2 separate regions of the Homo sapiens genome follow, and region 2 is linked to region 1. Evidence: promoter capture Hi-C in 16 types of primary human blood cells and fetal thymus (Javierre and others, 2016). All regions are on one chromosome and are shown on one strand. Each heading gives the region's core, a stretch centred on a gene start or on the middle of the fragment in contact. The rest is flanking DNA. Distances are from core to core; before and after follow the strand shown. Region 1 holds the start of CCDC71 (coiled-coil domain containing 71). Region 2 overlaps USP4 (ubiquitin specific peptidase 4).

The links. The method cuts DNA at HindIII sites, captures the fragments that hold promoters and counts their contacts. A CHiCAGO score of 5 or more calls a contact.
Region 2: a contact is called between a fragment that was not itself captured here and the fragment with the promoter of CCDC71 in region 1, in 5 of 17 cell types (endothelial precursors, M1 macrophages, erythroblasts and 2 more). The highest score is 7.2, in endothelial precursors.

Annotation. Positions count from the first base shown.
Region 1 is chr3:49,163,482-49,167,813 of GRCh38, forward strand. It overlaps CCDC71 (coiled-coil domain containing 71), which reads right to left and starts at 2,850. Exons shown (of 2, transcript NM_022903.4): 1 at 2,786-2,850; 2 at 1-779. The coding sequence starts at 727. RefSeq lists enhancers at 1-376, 2,922-2,991, 3,012-3,131 and silencers at 2,612-2,671, 2,692-2,771. The HindIII fragment of the contact is 8,654 bases long and covers 2,377-4,332 here.
Region 2 is chr3:49,320,331-49,324,510 of GRCh38, forward strand. All of the region lies in intron 6 of USP4 (ubiquitin specific peptidase 4), which reads right to left. Among named protein-coding and RNA genes, the nearest start is that of USP4, 18 kb to the right of the region's middle. The HindIII fragment of the contact is 4,741 bases long and covers 221-4,180 here.

The DNA of each region.
Region 1 (4,332 bases), core at 1,600-4,099:
CTTTGCGAGTCAGACACTTGGGGCCCTTGCTTGTGGTTTTTCTGGGAGCTTTGGGCCGAGGGTTCCCCGGACCCTTCCCTGAACTTTTCCGCAGTTTCAGAGGAGAGTCTGCAAGTGAGAGCTGCAGTGACTGTGCCTTGTGCTTGGCACCCAAGCAGGGCATGGGAGTCTTAAGTGGAACCAGGGCCTCAAGGACAACAGAGAGCCGCATGGCAGGGTAGACACCTGGATAAAGGTGGGTGGGGAAGCCCACTGCTGCACCCCGGGCATGGCTGGCACTTGATTGCTTCAGAGAGCTCAGCAGCAGGTTGGTGGTAGCATGCTTGGCAAGGGCTGGTGTGGATGCTTTGGCCAGTCTGCCAGATAGCGGCATGGGAAGCAGTGTGGCCCGACCTGCAGGCAACCGCATGGCAGTTCGGGGAGCACTGGCTGGAGGTGATGTGGCAGTTGGGTTAGGGGCACGAGCTTGCAGTTTCGTCTGGCTTGGGGGATTAGCTGTGCATGAACTATAGCCATAGACATCACCACTGCGCAGGATGGTAGGTTGGAAGCCATCATCTCGCAGGCCCTGCAGGAAGGCCACAAGCTGGGCCTCTGTGGCACTGAGATCCTGGCTCATTGGGTTAAAGACAAGCAGTGCCTCTTCCAGGGCCTTCTTCCCTGCCGTGGAGATGCGCGACCAGGAGTGCACAGCTTTTTCCTCCACATGCTGAACCACCACACTCATGGCATTAGGCACTGCAGATCTGCCTGGGTATCCGCAAACCAGCGCTTGGCACCTCCAAGACAAGAGGAAAAGAGTCAATAAGAATGGCACTAAGACAAGGGGCCAGAACACATAGACAAGTCAATCAGTGCCCCAATCTCCATGACACTGAGGAATCTGGCCAGAGTGAGACACTTCCTGGTGTAAAACCCTGGTCTCCTGACCCTCTACCATGCTGGGGTGGGAGGAGAGGCTAAGGATCAGGGAGTTTCTTCAAGATACATGCTCAGAAATACCTCAGAGCCATCCAACCTGCTGCCGGGTCCCTGAAAAGATTTGAGCCTGGTACATTTTAATTCAACTCTGTATTTTCTGAAGCCAGAAACCTAGAATTACTCAGCTCTGGGAATACAGGCAATATCCCTGTCCTCAAGGAACCTAGGTTAGAAGGCCAGAAAAAGACACTGTTAAGATTCTTGGGAGTGAATGCTGGCATTCAGCTCAGTTTGCCAATGGGTCAGGAAAGGATTCCTGGGAGAGACAACACCTAGCTAGGATATGAGTGATGAATGAAAAATGATTAGATGGAAATGGAACAAAAAGGGGAATAGCTAATGCAATGGCTCCAAAGTGAGAAAGGGTTAAGGCATACTTGGTGTGGGATCTGGGATCTAGGTGAAAAAACAGGCGAGGATAGAGCAACAAAGAACCCTGAATGTTAGCCAAAGGGCCCAGACTTACACCCACTGTCCATGCCCATCTGTTTCTCCAGCTGCTGCTGTTCATGTGTGGAGCTGGAGTGGGGTGGGGGAATCTCCCTGCCCACCAGAAGTTCTGTTTTCAGTCTCTAGACAGGGTACTCAGCAACCCATTTTCTAGCTCCAGAGGCATGGAGACCTAATCAAGAGTCGGACTTTTCTTCAACAGAAACTAAAAAGCTGATGAGTAGCAGGTGCCAATGACATCTCTCTAGGCAACCAGGCAGACCAGGGACCAGGAAGCCAGACCAAGATCCCAAAGTTTAAGGACAATGGGAGCCAAAGGCTGCAAGTAGGATGGTGAGTCAAGGGGACATTAGCGGTATGCACTGTCCTACCTAAGACTTGGAGGGCCACAGACCTCAGTACAGCCCAGATGGAGGTGACTGAGAACACCTAACTACTCCCAGACTTCTTTAAAGAAGCTGTGGACATCAATCATAACTAACATCTAATACCCAACCCAACACTGAGGGTTCCCAGAAGCAAGAGGCAGCTCCCCAGCTGCACCAGAGCATTAAAAGATCAGCCAGGATCAGGCAGGTCCCTCGGGCCATGAGGCCCGTCTGTGTAGTTTCTTCCCACCGCTCTAATGCAGCAGATGAAGTCTTCAGAATACCCTGGAGGAAATGCCCTAGGGCTCTTTGTTTGGAAACATTCTTGGATCCTCAGGTGTCTTGGGCACTTCCCCTCCCCAGAGACCGTTCTCCAAGCACAATCCTTGCACATGACTTTAGTTCTTTATTAATGTTTTTTGAAGGGATGTAGTTCCCAGAGCTGTGAACTGTAGAAGAGAGAGGGACCTATTTCCCACCCTCACACGCGCCCCAGCGCAAATATTTGGGGTGACCTGGGGGCTCTTCCACCCAGGTTAGGCTGGGCTCTTGGGAGGGGTTTTCTGGGCTTTCGAGAAGCTTCGGAAACAGAGGCTCCTGCCCGGCCTCCGACTTCCCTTCACACGTGCCCCCGGGGAAGGCAGGAGAAGTTGACGGAAGATAGGGCGTGAGAGAGGCGCCACACAGGCAGACCGGGGGAGGGGGCAGATCGGGGCCCTCAGGCTGGGAATGCACGTCCTTAGGGCCCAAGCCGTGAGGCGGGGGTCACTGAGGCAGCGAAATGTACAGGGTGAACGGTGCTAGCCCTACCGGGACCGCACAGCCCCAGGGTGGGGTCGCTGGGCGCGGGGTGGGGGTGGGGTGGGGGGTCTCGGCCAGGCCGGCGGAGGACGCGGGTCCGGGAAGAGTTGGCCGCTTGCCCGTCCGCCCTGCCGCCTCGCGGGCCGCCCCTCCGCGGCGCGGCTAGGCCCGCGGCTCCAACCTACCGGCGCCGCCGCGGGGACCCAAGACGCGCCTCTGCGCCGCCTCCGCTGCTCCAACATGGCCGCCCGCTGCGCGCCGGAAGTGCACTGCGCTTCCGCTTCCGGGACCCAGCCCGCCCTACCGACCCTTGACCCCTGAGACCCCATTTCCCCACAAAGTCTGGGGGCGGAGCAGATTGGGTACCAAGGAGGACTGCCTGGAGGTGGTGGCCGCGGTGACTGCTCCAAACCCGTTCGGCCCTGTGCAGAAGTCTGAAGAACAGAGGTGCCCTCTGACGCGGCCCCAGGCAAGGACTCACTAGAGCCCGGCCAAGACTGGATTAGGGGTCATCTGACACCTTTTCTGAGGGGAGCTAGTGGTGCATTGACATCTGGGAGGGGCTCCTGACAAGGTTCAGGCCATCTTCCACCCTCTGATCTATCTTTAGCCACTGACAATGCCCACTTCAGTCCCAGACACCTGACCAGAGGGTGAAAGAGGAGTGCCTCCTGACAGGGAGTCTCAGGTGATCTCCTTTGTTTTGCAGTAAGGGTATCTTCTCCGAGGACAGCAGGCCTTCCTCTCTTCCTGAGAATAGGGCCTGTGGCACATGGCATGAAAGGCTGGTGTGCACGTGATCACAAGTGGTGCACGCAAGCCCAAGCGCACATGGAGTCTGGGGGCTCCAGTATACCACTGTGGGCCTGAGTATACTTGCTCAGGCAGGTGGGGGCAGGTATAGTCACTGGCCCAGCCTCAGCCCCTCAATGGAAGGAAGTCCTGCTTCCAGTCTTAACACTGCCCAGAACCCCTTTCCTTTTGCCTAGGAGTCTGGGACCTCAGTCTTTTTATCCATGCTCTTGGGCTAGTACGGGGTGGTGGTTATAGGACACAGGTCAAAATCAACCCTAGGGGTCTGTGACTTCAGTGAGAGGTCAGAGTGGTCTCCACAGCTCTGACCAAAGGTCCCATTAGTCAGAGGTTTGCAAGTCCAGGTTGGGAACCATCCTGGGAGCCCTGGTTTCATGGATGAGGTAGTGGGGGCATTTGCACTAGGGTCAGAGCCTGAGCCAGGAGGCAGAAATATTGCCACAACTCTTGGACTCTGACCCTTGCAGTGGTGCCTTATTTGGTAGTTGGGGTCAGGTGGAAGCCTATTGGCAATCACAGGAGGGTGGCGGGATGCTTCATTTAGGGACTGGGTACTAGCCCTTTTTCCTGCCCTTTTTCCAACCAGGATCCTCTGGTTGCTCTGTATTTTCCCTGCTTATACAGAGGGGTCCAGGCACTCCTAAAGACAAGTGCCTAGTCCACCCAGCAGTGCCATAGGCCTCATCTGGTGCCTCTTAGCTTCCCAGGGCCTCAGCACTAATGGTGAGGTCCTCGCTGCTTTTAAGTATAGCCAAGGTATCTAGCAGGAACTGCAAAATCTCCTGTTCCTCTGGGGTCAGTGCTTCTAGCCTTTTTTTCCTGGTGGAGAGAAAGCAAGAGTAGGGTCCCAGGGGCCAGGATCTCATGGGGTGCAGTCAGGAAGCCCCACCTTGGTGCCCCCAGTCCCCAGCTGTGGGTG
Region 2 (4,180 bases), core at 1,341-3,840, 160 kb after region 1:
ACTCGAGAGGCTGAGGCAGGAGAATTGCTTGAACCTGGGAGGCAGAGGTTGCAGTGAGCCAAGATCGCGCCATTACACTCCAACCTGGGCAACAAGAGTGAAACTCCATCTCAAACAAAAAAGAAAAAGAAAAAGAGACAGCATCTCACTCTGTCGTCCAGGCTGGAGTGCAATGATGCAATCGTGGCTCACGGTAACTTCGAACTCCTGGGCTCAAGCAAGCTTCCTCCCTCAGCCTTCTGAGTAGCTAGGACTATAGGCACATACCACTGTATCCCTGGTGTGGTTTGTCTTTTAAAGTCTGATCTGAGAGTTTGTCTTTAGTTTGGTAAATTTAACTCATCTACAGTGATTCTAATGCTGTTATTAGACTTCACTGAATTTAATTCAGCCTCCTTATTTCAGGTTTCTTTTTTTTCCCCCTTTTTCCACATGTTCTAACATGCTTTCTAATTACCATACTTCTTATTTTTTCCCCCCTTCATTTTTGCCTTCCATTAATTTTCCTTTTGCAGGTGTGGCAGTTTGCTAGTCGCCTCCTGCTAGCTATTTTCCCCTCCTTCCTTAGTTTGAGAACCCCAGTTTTTAGCTGGACATGATGCAGTCCTGCTATACAGTACATCCCAGCCTTCCTGAAAGCCAGGTATTGTCATATGATTAGCCAATGAGATACAAAGGAGGTTTGATGTATGATATCTGAGAAATGTCCTAAAAAGGAAGGGGTAGGTCAGCTGGGTTTAATATTGCCATGGAGCTGCTACGTCAGCAATGGATTGACTGCCTACGTCAGAAATTCTTTTCAGAAAGATGTAAGCCTCCATCTTGCTTAATACGCTAATTTGCAGATTTTTCTTACCTGCCAGCAAGCCTTTCCTAACTGACGTAGTATGTTTCAAAGTTATACATTCAATTTTCCGTTTCTGTTAGTTGTTCCATTAACTTATTAGGATCTCTATTTTTATTTTTCCCCATAAATTACATAAACTTACAATTGTTCACCTTTCTCATCCTCAAGAATAGTAGTTCTGGACATTCTCATCTCTCTCTGCTCTATACTAATTCCTCACCTATGTTGGAATTACCCAGAATTTATCTCTGGAATATTATAGATACTAGTTGCTTTCTTAAACCTTGATTATTATTGTACCTTTTTTTTTTTTTTCTCCTGAGACAGAGTCTCACTGTATCGCCCAAGCTGGAGTGCAGTGGCACGATCTAGGCTCACTGCAATCCCCACCACCATTCTCATGCCTCAGCCTCCCCAGTAGCTACGATTACAGGCATGTGCCACTGCACCGGGCTAATTTTCTTCTATTTTTTAAGAGATGGGGTTTCAGCATGTTGGCCAGCCACCGCACCTGGCCTATTATTGATTTTTTTTGGCCGGGCGCCGTGGCTTATGCCTGTAATCCCAGCATTTTGGGAGGCCGAGGCAGGCGGATCACTTGAGGCTAGAAGTTCGAGACCAGCCTGGCCAACATGGTGAAACCCCGTCTCTACTAAAAATACAAAAATTGGCTGTGCATGGGTGGCATGCACCTGTAATCCCAGCTACTCAGGAGGCTGAGGCACAGAATTGCTTGAACCCAGGAGGCAGAGGTTACAGTGAACCGAGATCATGCCACTGGACTCCAGCCTGGGCTACAGATCAAGACTCCGTCTATTAAAAAAACAAAAAAACAAAACCCCTGAGTGTATAAAATCAAGAAATTTGCACCAAGTGATACATCCATGTAACCACTACCCTGACCAAGAAACAGGACACCCCCAGACCCCTAGGTGTCCTTCTCACGATTCAGTCGCAATTCTTCCCAACACTAACCAGTTCTGACCATGAATCCCCAAGGTTAATTTTGCCTGTTATAAAGTTTTAAGTCAACAGAATCATTATGCCCTGCTCTGTGTCTACCTTCTCTCATTCATCATTTTTCATTAGACTCATCACTGTTGTGCAAAGCTGGACAGAATTTCCTTGTGTGCTTACACTTACTGCAGTTTATCCATTTACTTTTGATGGACATTTGGGTTAGCTCCAGTTTGTAACTATGACAAGCAGTGCTAGCACAAACATCCTGAAATATGTATTTAAGAGAACATGGGATATATTTCTATTGGTTATATGCCTAACAACAGGATTGTTGAGTAGCAGAATGTGCATATAATTCTACATTTTTGCCTCTTTTTTTTACTAGTGTTGCCTGACTTGTTTGTATTGACTAGTAGGAATTTCTTTGCAACTCTAGATATACGACCAGCTGTGGTGGCTCATGCCTGTAATCCAGCACTTTGGGAGGCTAAGGCAGGCAGATAACTACAGGCCAGGAGTTCAAGACCAGCCTGGCCAACATGGTAAAACCCTGTCTCTACTAAAAATACAAAAATTAGCTGGGCATGGTGGTGGGAGCTTGTAGTCCCAGCTGCTCGGGAGGCTGAGGCATCAGTCACTTGAACCCGGGAGTGGGGGTGCAGTGAGCTGAGATCGCACCATTGCACTCCAACCTTGGCAAGAGAGTAAGACTCCGTCACAGGGAAAAAAAAAAAAGAAAAAAAAATTCTGGACACAACTTGTCAGACATGGATTACAAATCTCTTCTCTCACTGTATGGCTTATGGCTTGTCTTCACTCACTGGTGAACAGACATTCTTTTTTTTTTGAGATGGAGTTTCGCTCTTGTTCCCCAGGCTAGAGTGCAATGGTGCAATCTCAGTTCCCTGCAACCTCCGCCTCCCGGGTTCAAGCGATTCTCCTGCCTCAGCCTCCCAAGTAGCTGAAATTACAGATATGCACCACCACGCCTGGCTAATTTTGCATTTTTAGTAGAGACAGGGTTTCTCCATGTTGGTCAGGCTGGTCTCAAACTCTCAACCTCAGGTGAGCCGCCCACCTCGGCCTCCCAAAGTGCTGGGATTACAGGCATGAGCCACTGCTCCTGGCCTTTTTAAAAAAAAAAAAAAAAAAAAAAAAAAAGAGATGGGGTCTTGCTGTCGCCCAGGCTGGAGGGCAATGGCAGAATCATAGCTCACTGCAGCCTCAAACTCCTGGACTCAAGCAATGCTCCCACCTCAGCCTGTCAGGTAGCTGGGACTACAGGCACTCACCATTGTGCTTAATCCCATCTGCAAAGTCCCTTTTGCCATGTCACCTGACATAATGACAGATTCTGAAACAGATTCTGGGAATTAGGATATGGATATCTCAGGGTGAAGATGAGCACAGCTATGCCTACCACAGCTATTTTATTTATCTTGTCAACAACTGGCAACCGGGGTTTCTTAAACTGGAGTCCATGACTGGACTTCAGGGGTTCTAACAGTTCTTCTCTTAAGAACTCATAGTTTTCATGGTTCTCAAATGACCTAGGAGCCCACTACTATGTAATGGTCACAGTCCAAGGCCTGACAGAGGGAAAAGGACAGAGCGCAACATTATTCCCATAACTACTGGAACACAGATATAATTTCCAAAACTTATACCATAACGAAAATTAATCACTTCTTTATCTCCCTAAGAACATGCACAGTTCCACATACCACATGAACATCTCTTGAAACAGATGTGTCCTTAGTCCAAGTTTTGTAGCTGAACAATTCACCCAGCAAGCTCCCAGGGCAACAATGAGTAACAGGCCACTGGGCAGAAACAGGTAGAATCAAGCTATCACTTTTTTTTTGTTTTTGTTTTTTTTGGGTCAGAGTCTTGCACTGTCACCTAGGCTGGAGTATAATGGTGCGATCTCAGCTCACTGCAGCCTTCACCTCCTGGATTCAAGCGACTCTTGAGCCTCAGCCTCCCGAGTAGCTGAGATTACAGGTACCTGCCACCATGCCTAGCTAATTTTTGTATTTTTAGTAGAGACAGGGTTTTACCATGTTGACCAGGCTGGGCTCGAACTCCTGGCCTCAGGTGAGCCACCTCCCACGGCCTCTCAAAGTGCTGAGCTTACAGGCATGAGCCACCATGCTCAGGCCTCAACTATCACTTTTAAGTCATATAAAACCCCATGCCTTAGCCTTCCTCTTATCCATCAAGGCCTCTAACTACATGTGGAGAAAATAAAAGCGTGACAAAAACAAAGCAACCTCCTGGTAGAGCAGCAACCTTAGACTTGATCCCTCATATCCCTTCCTCCTTTTCTCATTCTCCACGAGCAGAGGCTCGCCACCTTGCTGAGATATCCTG